Regions from separate parts of the Homo sapiens genome. Here regions 2, 3 and 4 are each linked to region 1. Evidence: promoter capture Hi-C in 16 types of primary human blood cells and fetal thymus (Javierre and others, 2016). All regions are on one chromosome and are shown on one strand. The core of a region is centred on a gene start or on the middle of the fragment in contact, and the rest is flanking DNA. Distances in the headings are between cores, read along the strand shown.

What was found. The method cuts DNA at HindIII sites, captures the fragments that hold promoters and counts their contacts. A CHiCAGO score of 5 or more calls a contact.
Region 2: a fragment that was not itself captured here is called in contact with the fragment with the promoter of MCMBP in region 1 in 1 of 17 cell types (fetal thymus); the score reaches 5.8 in fetal thymus.
Region 3: a fragment that was not itself captured here is called in contact with the fragment with the promoter of MCMBP in region 1 in 1 of 17 cell types (naive CD8 T cells); the score reaches 5.6 in naive CD8 T cells.
Region 4: a fragment that was not itself captured here is called in contact with the fragment with the promoter of MCMBP in region 1 in 1 of 17 cell types (naive CD4 T cells); the score reaches 5.5 in naive CD4 T cells.

The regions. Positions count from the first base shown.
Region 1 is chr10:119,871,163-119,874,350 of GRCh38, reverse strand. It overlaps MCMBP (minichromosome maintenance complex binding protein), which reads left to right and starts at 1,508. Exons shown (of 16, transcript NM_001256378.2): 1 at 1,508-1,824. The coding sequence starts at 1,767. RefSeq lists enhancers at 979-1,148, 1,014-1,173 and a silencer at 1,404-2,053. The HindIII fragment of the contact is 9,733 bases long and covers 1-3,188 here.
Region 2 is chr10:119,099,243-119,102,276 of GRCh38, reverse strand. No RefSeq gene overlaps it. Among named protein-coding and RNA genes, the nearest start is that of DENND10, 3.4 kb to the left of the region's middle. The HindIII fragment of the contact is 268 bases long and covers 1,186-1,453 here.
Region 3 is chr10:119,041,171-119,044,088 of GRCh38, reverse strand. It overlaps EIF3A (eukaryotic translation initiation factor 3 subunit A), which reads left to right. Exons shown (of 22, transcript NM_003750.4): 18 at 1-35; 19 at 1,317-2,095. Among named protein-coding and RNA genes, the nearest start is that of NANOS1, 13 kb to the right of the region's middle. The HindIII fragment of the contact is 5,604 bases long and covers 1-2,918 here.
Region 4 is chr10:119,184,201-119,187,318 of GRCh38, reverse strand. No RefSeq gene overlaps it. Among named protein-coding and RNA genes, the nearest start is that of PRDX3, 6.9 kb to the right of the region's middle. The HindIII fragment of the contact is 3,528 bases long and covers 1-3,118 here.

The DNA.
Region 1 (3,188 bases), core at 259-2,758:
GGAGCATCTGTACAAAACAAGCTCCCTACCCTTCCACTATGTACCTAAGAGCAGGACATACATTTTCAAAGGTGTCCCACCTCCTCTTTCTACCAGGGACAAAAGTTAGTCACCAGAGACAACTTTAGACCCTTATCAGCCAGCGATGGCGCTAGAAGAACCTACATAACACACTTTACTCACTACCTGTAACTACCATTAGTTTCTCGTATCTCTGCCTTCCCACTCTGCTGTTTTTGGAAACTTCAAACTGCTTTCGCCATTTCTCCCCAGTTATTGTTCTTTATTGTAAATGCTACGTAATTCCCCCATTCTAAGCCACCTGTTTGAGTTACTCTTCCTTGAGTTTTGCCCATATAAGATGTACATGTTACTAAATTTTTCTTTTGCCAATCCGAGCTTTGTGATAAGGGCCGCAGTGGAGAACCTAGAAAGGTAGAAAGATTTTCCCCCCTTCCTACAGCCCCAAGGAGGGTTTGAGACACGGGTTCCGTTTTTTTCCTTCAGCTCCTCACTTTGTAGATTCCATTCAGGTCATTCCCCTTCCGTCACCATGCCCTTTTTTCATTGAGTAGATATATCTGATGGGCCTGGGGTTTTCTTAGGTACATTTCAGGCCCAGGGGAGACACAGTTTCATTCTTTTTTTCTTTTTTATCGGACAGCCTCCTGAACCAGAAGAGGTTCAGAGCGACTCCCACAGTTTCACTCTTGAACTTGGGTATTTTCCAAATTGCCTCAGCAAAAGGCTGCTGTAGTCGGTCTTCGTAGCTTCCTTCTCCAGGGTATCCTAGCGGCGCGCAGTGCAGGAGCCTCGCACCGCTCCCCGACGGCGGCTGCCAGCTTCCAGACAGACGCCGACCCGGTGTTCGCAACCAGGGCGCAGGCCGGGCCCGGAGCGTTTAGAGCGCCCGCCCCTCGGTAAGGAACCGTCCCTGAGCCACAGGGCCTGACGCGACTGCAGAAGGAGCGTGGGGTCCTCCGAGGTTCCCCTTCTCTAAATGTGCACCTTCCTCAGGGAGACCTTGTGCAGCTGAGGGAAAAGTCACCACTCAGGGTTTCGGGCCGGGGACCCAAATAAAAGTGCTGCCATCAGCAAAAAAAGAAAAAAAAGGCACGAAGAGGAGGTGGGCGGATTCCCAAGGCGGTTTCGCCCACTAATTTTGCCCAGAGATGACTCTGAGGTCTCTGAGCTTAATGCTTTTCAGCTGTTGTGCAGACTCGCTTTGCCCTCTTATAAGCCCACTATGGGAGTTCCCGCTACACGCCGGCCCAGGGGTACAAACGACAACGCGCCGCCCTTGGAGCGCGTCGCCGGGCCCCGCGCTGCGCAGCCTCCAGCGGCGCTGCGTGCCCTTCCTTTTGCCCGTCTCCAAGATGGCGGCGCCGCCGCCGCCCCTCCTCCTCGCCGCGCAGAGCCGCGCTGCGCCGCGCGCTCCCGCCGCCCCTCCCCACGCGAGCTCCACCCAGGTCGCAGGCAGCGCGGTCGGCGGCGGCTATTTCCCGCCATTGTGCGAAGTGAAGGCTAGGGGCCCGTACGCGCCCGCCTGACTGTCGCCAGCAGCTCCTCGGCGGCCCCACCGCAGCCGCCGCTCCCTGAGGCGCGGGAGGCCCGCGCCCCGCGGCTCGCTGTGCGTGGGAGGGCGCGAGCGAACGCGGGCGAGGAGCGGCCGAGCCGCTGAAGAGGAGCTGGGCGCCGGCCGCCCGGCCGCGCTCGGCCCGCGGATCGCCTCCGCCCGGTCTTCGCCGGCCCCGGCCCCTGGCGAGATGCCGTGTGGGGAGGATTGGCTCAGCCACCCGCTGGGAATCGTGCAGGGATTCTTCGGTGAGTGGCGGCGCCGGGGGGCGGGCCGGGCGGGCAGCCGAGTTTGCCGGGCCCCGGGGCAGGGCCCCGCCGCGCGGCCCCCACGCGGTACCATCTCGAGGGCTCGCGTGGCCCGAGACGGGGCCCCGGGGCCTGCACCGGCCCCAGCTGGGACAGCCTCTCCCCCGGTCGCAGCAGGCAGGGGCAGGAGCCGGGCCGCAGGTACCTCCCACCTGCCCGAGTCGCAGCTTGGGAGCCGCCAAGGTGAAGTCGTGGGGCGCGGGCTGTGATTCGCGGGCTGTGATTGACGGCCTCGCTCCCAGCCTGTGGCAGGGCCAGGGCCCCGGCCCCGGGCGCAGCAAACTCGGAGGTCCTCGAACCCTGGGGAGGGCCCGCAGAGCCGCGGGGAGGGAAAACCACTTTGCCTGTGGGAAGCCCACAGGATATTTCAAAACTTCCGGTGCGTCGGGGAGTGCTCGCTTGCACAGAAGTTGGTTCTAACTCCTGTGCTACCCTCATTCTCTCTTTCAGAGATAAGATTTAATGTTCATAGCTTAGTTTTCCTGTTGGGATGACTTTAGAACCCATCTAGTCTGGATCTGCTCCTGTGCCAGAGCCAGCAAGAAATATTGAGCTACTTGAGTTTGTACACAGGGCTGAGAATCCTGCAGGCGAGCTTAGTAAATTTTGGTTGCGATTGCTGTTGCTACTTTACTGCGAAGGGTATACGAAGAAAAGTTTATATTTGTTGTCGTTAACTGGGCATTTTGACAACCGTTCCATTCCCCAGTGTCTTTTTACACGTAATGAGTGGCGGAGTCAGATCCAGCTAGAAATCACTGTAGATGGCAACACCTGACTTGTCTGGAGTTAACTTAGAGTTGTAGAGCGGCCTTAGCTCATTGAAAAAAACATCTTGGGGTACTAGAGAGAAAAGGCAGTGGGAAGCTAAATCATCCTCAGCAGCCAAAATCGACGGCAAACAATGTATGGTATTTCTTATAGGAGGGCCTCTAGTGCTTACTCAGGAAGTCCTTATTAATTTACCTGTAATTCTAATTAGTTTAGTTACCTGGCTTCCCAGGCTGTAACTAATGGCATTATATTAGAAAAAAGCCTGGATAGACGTCCGAACTTAGCCAGTGAACACTGACAGCCTGATGAAGAAATTTAAAACTACCTTCATACTTGAAAAAAAAAAAAATTCACTATATAGCAGTCAAGGGTGCTTTGAGGAAGGGGCATATATTTCTCCACTAAATCCTAGTAATTTATGTTCATAAGAATTCTAGAAATGATAATCGATGGTCAACACAATGGCCCCAAAATGTCAAGTGAAGATTCAATTGTAGCATTGGTTTAAGAGGGTGCAGATGCATAGATAC
Region 2 (3,034 bases), core at 70-2,569, 770 kb after region 1:
TGTCTCTACTAAAAATACAAAAAATTAGCCGGGCGTGGTGGCAGGTGCCTGTAGTCCCAGCTACTTGTGAGGCTGAGGCAGGAGAATGGCGTGAACCCGGGAGGCGGAGCTTGCAGTGAGCCGAGATCACGCCACTGCACTCCAGCCTGGGCGACAGAGCGAGACTCCATCTCAAAAACAAACAAACAAAAAATCACAAAAATTAGCTAGGCATGGTGGCAGGTGCCTGTAATCCCAGCTACTCAGGAAGCTGAGGCAGACTGGCTTGAACCCAAGAGAGGACGGTTGCAGTGAGCCAAGATCGCGCCACTGCATTCCAGCCTGGGCGACAGAGTGAGACTCCATCTCAGAAAAAAAAAGAAAAGAAATGAGGATGAAGACGATGATGAACAGATAATTAAACAAAGGAGAGGGAGATGATAGTGGGTGCAGGGAGGGGAAAGATAATGAGGGGTGTGTCCAGGCTCCAGTGAGTGGGATGATACCTGGAATTGACACCTCCTTCCCTCCTGTTTCTCCACAAGTGCTGTCTTACCTGCCAGACAGGTACACCAGAGTGAAGGGAAAAGGAATAGAGGGTGGAGAGAGCAGAGGCGACGCATCCCCAATCTTTAAAAGTAAGACTGACCTCTGCGCTGTCACAGACAGATGGAGCTGGGGTGTGGAAACAGACAACCTGAGTTCCAACCCCCTTGCCCATCTTAGCTGCGAAACCTCACACATGTTTCCTATCTTTTCTGTGCATGTTTTCTCAGTGATCAAATGGAGCTAACCATACTTTCCTCCGTGACTCTCCCAATAAAGATTTGAATCAGGGAAAATCTTTATGCTAGTTTTATTGATAAGAATAGCCTAATTTTATAGGTAAGAATATAAAGGGTCCCCAAGACCACCCCCCAAATTCAATGATTTGTTGGAAGGATTCTCAGGATTCAGCATATAGCTATACTCATGGCTATGATATACATTTTTATTTTTTTGAGACAGGGTCTCACTCTGTCACCCAGGCTGGAGTGCAGTGGCACGATCACGGCTCACTGCAGCTTTGATCCAGGCTCAAGCTATCCTCCCACCTCATCCTCCTGAGTAGCTGGGACTACAGGCAGGCACCACCATGCCTAGCTATTTTTTTTTTTTTTTTTTTGAGATGTGATCTCACCATATTGTGTAGGCTGATCTCAAGCTTCTGACCTCAAGCGATCTGCCCACCTCAGGCTCCAAAGTGCTGGGGTTACACATGTGAACCACCATCCCCAGCTCAGGGCTATGATTTATTACAGCCAGAGAATACAAAGCAAAATCAGCAAAGGGAAAAGGCACATGGGGTGATGTCTGGAGGAAACCAGGGCCAAGTTCCCAAGAGTTATTTCCTGGTAGAGTCACACAGGACACACCTAATTCCTCCAGCAACAAGTTGTGGCAATACTTGTGATATTTATCAACCAGGGAAGCTTGTTAGAACTCAGTCACCAAGTAACTCAGTTTTTACTGGGGGCCAGTCACATAGGTACCCTCTGCCTAGCTCATACCAGATTTCCAGACTCTCATGAACCACATTGTATGTACAAATAGTTCAGGCATAGTCTGTCACTCTGATCAGTTTGATCAGTTCTAGAAATGCTGGGAACACTGCCGAAGTCCAAGTTTCCAGGCACAGCCAAGGGCCAAACTGGCCAGCAGACTTTCTATGGATATCACCCTCAGGCCTGTCGTGTGAATTCTTTTTTGCACAGCCTGCTCACTCCTTGCTCTGCAGAAAAAGAGTAAGTTACTGGCACTGAAGCAGATTTGGAAAGTGCCTAAACTGTCTGGCCACATGGACAAGTGCACAAGGGACCCCAGCATCTTCCAGGTGTTCCAATCCCAGGTTCCTATGAGTCAAATATGGTTCTTTTTCATCTTTGTTTCTGTAATTGGATTCCATCATAGATTGGGCATGTGTCAGCCAAGGGAGCCATTAGGGTGGCAGTTTTTTTTTGTTGTTGTTGTTTTGTTTGTTTGTTTGTTTTGATGGAGTCTTGCTCTGTCGCAATGCAGTGATGCAATCTCAGCTCACTGCAACTTCCGCCTCCTGGGTTCAAGCAATTCTCCTGTCTCAGCCTCCTGAGTAGCTGGGACTACAGGCGCAGGCCACCACACCCGGCTAATTTTTGTATTTTTAGTAGAGACAGGGTTTCACCATATTGGTCAGACTGGTCTCGAACTCCTGACCTCAGGTGATCCACCCACCTCAGCCTCCCAAAGTGCTGGGATTACAGGTGTGAGCTACTGTGCCCAGCCTTTTTTTTTTTCTGAGACGGAGTCTTGCTCTGTCACCCAGGCTGGAGTGCAGTGGTGTGATCTCCACTAACTGCAACCTCCGCCTCCCAGGCTCAAGCAATTCTCCTGCCTCAGCCTCCCAAGTAGCTGGGACTACAGGTGTGTGCCACCAAGCCTGGTTAATTTTTTTTTATTTTTAGTAGAGATGGGGTTTCACCATGTTGGCCAGGCTAGTCTGAAACTCTTGGCCTCAAGTGATCCATCCGCCTTGGCCTCCCAAAGTGCTGGGATTACAGGTGTGATCCACCACGCCTGGCCAAGCTCTTTTAATTTAAGGGATTCAGTCTCACTTGGGAACTGGAAGGCGATTCAGTCAACTGCTCTGACACTCCGTCCTGACTTCTAGCATATGTGAGGCTTCCAGAACATTCCCAAGATGAAGTCATCCTCCTTGTGTTCTCAATGGTTTCAGGATGCTGGGTAGCTCTCCGGCCCTAAGAAGCCCAGGTTTCGAGCTGTGTTGCATTATTCTTTTTTCTTTCTTTCTTTCTATTTATTTATTCATTTATCTATTGAGACAGGGTCTTGCTCTGTCACCCAAGCTGGGGTGCAGTCGTTCAATCACAGCTTGCTGCAGACTTGACCTTCCAGGCTCAAGCAATTCTCCCACCTCAGCCTCCCGAGTAGCTGGGACCATAGGTTTGTGCCACCATGCCCAGCAATTTTTTAAAACTTTTTGTAGAGATGGGGTCTCCTTATGTTGCCCAGTATGGCC
Region 3 (2,918 bases), core at 135-2,634, 830 kb after region 1:
GCAGATTCTGAGTGGAGAAGAGGCCCGCCAGAGAAGTAAGTAGAGTTGAGGAAAATAATGCCGCTCCAGTTCCTGTTAATATCTTATCAGTGGTTTTAAAATTTGGTTCATTTTGTAGAGGCAGGGAAAGGAGAGCCATGAAGAATTGTGTGCATGTCTGATTGCGTGTGGGTTTGTATTTTGTTTTTTTGGGTCTGCTGCCCAGGCTGGGGTGCAGTGGCGCTATCTCGGCTCCCTGCAACCTCTGCCTCCTGGGTTCAAGTGCCTCAGCCTCTCGAATAGCTGGGATTACAGGTGTGTGCCACCACACCTGGCTACTTTTTGTATTTTTAGTAGAGATGGGGTTTTGCCATGTTGCCCAAGCTGGCTTTGACCTCTTGACCTCAAGCGATCTGACTGTCTCAGCCTCTCAAATTGCTGGGATGACAGGCATGAGCCACTGCACTTGGCCTGTGTTGTTGTTTTTGTTGTTGTTGTTGTTGTTTTGAGATGGCGTCTCACTCTGGAGTGCAGTGGCGCGATCTCGGCTCACTACAGCCTCAACCTCCCTGGGCTTAGGTGATCCTCCTGCCTCAGCCTCCTGAGTAGCTGGGACCACAGGTGCGCTCCACCATGCCTGGTTAATTTTGTTTGTTTGTTTCTTTGTTTTTGAGACAGAATCTAGCTCTGTCACCCAGGCTGGAGTGCAGTGGCGCGTTCTCGGCTCACTGCAGCCTCCGCCTCCTGGGTTGAAGCAATTCTTGTGCCTCCCAAGTAGCTGGGAGGCACTTGTAATCCTCCCAAGTAGGATTACAGACATGCACCACCACGCCTGGCTAATTTTTGCATTTTTAGTAGACCCGAGGTTTCACTATGTTGGCCAGGCTGGTCTTGAACTCCTGACCTCAAGAAATCTGCCTGCCTCGGCCTCCCAAAGTGCTGGGATTACAGGTGTGGGCCACTACGCCTGGTGAATTTTTATATTCTTTATAGTGATGGGGTTTTGACATGTTGCCCAGGCTAGTCTCAAACTCCTGGGCTCAAGCAATCCTCCCGCCTTGGCCTTCCAAAGTGCTGGGATTACAGGTGTGAGCGACTGTGCCCAGCCGCATGTCTTACAATTAAGTAGAGATGGGTTTTGCCAGGCCAGGCTGGTCTTGAACTCCTGACCTCAGGTGATCTGCCTGCCTCTGCTTCCCAGAGTGCTGGGATTAAAGGTGCGAGCCACTGCTCCGGCCCATACTGAAGTTTTTAAAAAGCATGTGAAAAAAAAAATCCCCAAAGGATCATATGCTTTTTTATTTTATATATTTTTAATTGTTCTTGTTGCTGTGTAGGGAGTGGAGACGTGGAGAAGGGCGAGATGAGGACAGGTCTCATAGAAGAGATGAAGAGCGGCCCCGGCGTCTGGGGGATGATGAAGATAGAGAGCCCTCTCTTAGACCAGACGATGATCGGGTTCCCCGGCGTGGCATGGATGATGACAGAGGCCCTAGACGTGGTCCTGAGGAAGATAGGTTCTCTCGTCGTGGGGCAGACGATGACCGGCCTTCCTGGCGTAACACAGATGATGACAGGCCTCCCAGACGAATTGCCGATGAAGACAGGGGAAACTGGCGTCATGCGGATGATGACAGACCACCTAGACGAGGACTGGATGAGGACAGAGGAAGCTGGCGAACAGCTGATGAGGACAGAGGACCAAGACGTGGGATGGATGATGACCGGGGGCCGAGGCGAGGAGGCGCTGATGATGAGCGATCATCCTGGCGTAATGCTGATGATGACCGGGGTCCCAGGCGAGGGTTGGATGATGATCGGGGTCCCAGGCGAGGCATGGATGATGACCGGGGTCCCAGGCGAGGCATGGATGATGACCGGGGTCCCAGGCGAGGCATGGATGATGACCGGGGTCCCAGGCGAGGGTTGGATGATGATCGAGGACCTTGGAGGAACGCCGATGATGACAGAATTCCCAGGCGTGGTGCAGAGGATGACAGGGGCCCTTGGAGAAACATGGATGATGATCGCCTTTCAAGACGTGCTGATGATGATCGGTTTCCCAGACGGGGTGATGACTCAAGACCTGGTCCTTGGAGACCATTAGTCAAGCCAGGTAAAATTCTATTTCCTAGAATATGCTTAAGTGTTCACCTGTAAAAGTGAAATTCTGATGGATAAATATCAGGGCTGTATTGTTATTTTCCAGATAAACTGGTCTTTCATCTTTCCTTCAGTATCATTTGCAGTGACTTCGCTGTCAAAAGTTTGCCTTCAGAATACCACCATCCAAAACATAAATAACCCAACCCCTCTCTTCTTTAGTGATGTGCTCTTTGTTTTCCTTCTGCTTCGATGACTGCTTCTTTGAAGGCTCTTCCTGTACTCATGCTTTCAGTATTGGTGTATTTTTCAGGTTTTACTGGGAACCAGCCTCCTTTTAAAAATAAATAATTGAAACCAAAATGTACTTTATATATTTATTTTTGCCAACTGAGAGATTATGCAAGGAGGAACTCATTTTACTTTACTTTTTTTGAGACAGGGTCTTGCTCTGTTGCACAGGCTGGAATGCAGTGGTGCAGTCATGGCTCACTGCAACCTTGACCTCCCGGACCCTAGGGAGCCTCCCACTTCAGCCTTCTGAGTAGCTAGGACTACAGGCGCATGCCACCACACCCTGCTAATATTTTATTTTTTGGAGAGACGGGGTTTCGCTATGTTGCCCAGGCTGGTCTCAAACTCCTGGGCCCAAGTTATCCTTCTGCCTCTCCCTCCCAAAGTGAAGTGCTGGGATAACGGGTGTGAGGCGCTGCGCCCAGCCTCATTTTTTTTCTTAGTCCTGGGCCTGCTTATTGTTTCACACTTTATTATTCGTGAGCAGTTGTATACATGTTTGTGACATGCGTCTATTACCATTTTTTTTCTTTTTGAGGTGG
Region 4 (3,118 bases), core at 307-2,806, 690 kb after region 1:
GCGTGGTGGCGGGCACTGTTATCCCAGCTACGCAGGAGGCTGAAGCAGGAGAATTGCTTGAACCTGGGAGACAGAAGTTGCAGTGAGCCGAGATGGTACCACTGCACTCCAGCCTGGGTGACAGAGTGAGACTCCGTCAGAAAAAAAAAAAGAAGGCTGAGAGTAGAGTGGGCCCCAAGGTGGTGAACATCAATTGCAGGGGCGGAACCTATTAGAAATGCTTAGGCAAAAGAGCACAGCGTACCGCATCAATGGACAGAATCCACAGTGAGGCCTGGTGCCTGGGAGTGGAGTACTTGAGATATTTCACTAAAGGACAGATGGTCAGTGCTCCTTCATGTCCTCACACAGCCCACATTTATAGTACCATCTCCTATTATGTCCCATCAAGCACATTATGCTCCAACAAATACTGTAGGAGGTCATACAATATTGCTTTAAGAGTTGGGGCACTTGGCCAGGCACGGTGGCTCACGCCTGTAATACCAGCACTTTGGGAGTCCAAGGTGAGTGGATCACGAGGTCAGGAGATGGAGACCATCCTGGCTAACACGGTGAAACCCCATCTCTACTAAAAATACAAAAAAATTAGCCAGGTGTGGTGGCGGGCGCCTGTAGTCCCAGCTACTCGGGAGGCTGAGGCAGGAGAATGGCGTGAACCCGGGAGGCGGAGCTTGCAGTGAGCTGAGATTGCGCCACCGCACTCCAGCCTGGGCGACAGGGCGAGACTCCATCTCAAAAAAAAAAAAAAAAAAAGAGTTGGGGCTCTGGCCTCACACCGGTAATCCCAACATTTTGGGAGGCCAAGGCAGGAGGACTGCTTGAGCCCAGGAGTTTGAGACCAACCTAGACAACATAGGAAGACCCTTCTCTACAAAAACTAACAAAATTAGCTGGGCTTGGTGATACACACTTGTGGTCCCAGCTCCTTGGGAGGCTGAGGTGGGAGGATTGTTTGAGCCCAGGAGGTTGAGGCTGCAGTGAGCCATGGTTGTGCCATTGCACTCCAGCCTGGATGACAGAGAGAGACCCTGTCTCAAAAACAAACAAACAAACAAAAAACAATAAAAATGAAAAGGAATGGGGGCTCTGCAGTCAGCTTTCAAGGTTTAAATCCTGGCTCCTTCCCTTTCCAGTTGTGGGACTTTGGACAAATTACTAAACCTTCCCAAGCATCAGTCTCCTCACCTTGGAAATGGGGATGATGAATTAAAAACAGTACCTGTGGCTGGGTGTGATGGCTCACACCTGTAATCCCTACACCTGGGGAGGCCGAGGCAGGCGGATCACTTGAGGTCAGGAGTTCGAGACCAACCTGGCCAACATGATGAAACCCCATCTCTACTAAAAATACAAAAATTAGCCAGGTGTGGTGGTGTGCACCTGTAATCCCAGCTACTTGGGAGGCTGAGGCAGGAGAATCACTTGAACCCAGGAGTGGAGTTTGCTGTGAGCTGAGATCATGCCATTGCACTTCAGCCTGAGTGACAGAGCAAGACTCTAAAACAAAACAAAACAAAACAAAACAAAAAACAAACCGAAAAAGCACCTGTGTCATAGGGTTGTGCAGACGGAATAGAGATACTGCATTCAACCCAGAGCGTAGCCCCATAGTGTGGTCACTGAAGATAACAGTAAACCAAAGGGACAAAGGTCACTAGTCACTTCCACCTGCCATCTTCCCCTTCACCTTCCCCAAGCAGCAGGATAGATGATTTCTCTGTGAAGCCCTTCTTGGCCCCTTTCTCTAAACCATGATAGCACTTCACTTGCACCTCTCTTTTATTTAATATAACGAACACTATGTGCCTGCTGACTGTGCTAATGCCTTTAAAATATGAACTCATTTATTCCTCACAAAAGCCCTTGGGGTAAGCACTAACATCATTTCAATTTTACAGATGGGAAAATGTGCTAAGTAACTTGCCCAAGGCCACGTGCCTGCAGCTAGCAGAGCTGGTGTGTCAATCTCAGCTGTCCACACTCAACCATTATGCCTCTTTCATGCCTCTTAAAATGCTGAATCTTGGACTGGGTTTTTTTTTTAATGATTTTATCAGTATTCCTTGGATACACACACAGTTCCTCGGCAGCAGGGTCTAAGTGATCCTCTCCAGTACATGTTTATTAATGATTAAAATCACATTGTTGGCTAGGGACGGTGGCTCATGCCTGTAATCCCAGCACTTTGGGAGGCCGAGGCGAGAGGATCACTTGAGGTCCGGAGTCCAAGACCAGCCTGGCCAACATGGCAAAACCTGGTCTCTACTAAAAATACAAAAATTAGCTAGTTGTGGTTGTGGGCACCTGTAATCCCAGCTACTCAGGAGGCTGAGGCAGAAGAATCTCTTGAACCCAGGAGGCAGAGGTTGCAGTGAGCCGAGATTGCACCACTGCACTCCAGCCTGGGCAACACAGCAAGATTCTAAAAAAAAAAAATCACATTGTTAATTGATCCAATACCAGAGGGCTCTCTATTTGGTACCTAATAGGACAGGAAACAGATTACTTCAGAGGCTAAAATGGGCAGGAATCATGCAGGAAATCTAACTGAAGGCAGCCGCAGGTGAATGGGGCTACATGGAAGACGGAAAGTAATGTTACCTTGAAGCAGCCAGGCACGGTGGCTCACACCTGTAATCCCAGCACTTTGGGAGGCCGAAGCGGGCCGATCACCTGCGGGCCAATCACCTGAGGTCAGGAGTTCGAGACCAGCCTGACCAACATGGCAAAACCCCATCTCCGCTAAAAACACAAAATTAGCTGGGCGTGGTGGTGCATGCCTGTAATCCCAGCTACTCAGGAGGCTGAGGTAGGAGAATCACTTGAACCTGGGAGGCAGAGGTTGCAGTGAGCCGAGATCGCACCATTGCACTTTAGCCTGGGCAACAAGAGCAAAACTCCGTCTCAAAAAAAAAAAAAAAAAAGAATTGCTTTCAGAGCCAATTATGAGGCCCTCAAGTAATGTTACCTTGAAGCCTAACCCTGCCTATGAGCTGGCACTAACTAATGCATCTGAGCTTTAAAACTGAAACCAGGATGAGTGAGGTGAAATTCTAAGGGAACTCCACTCTGCTCTGTCGCTTTGACTTGCACCATGCTTTACATTTTTATAGTG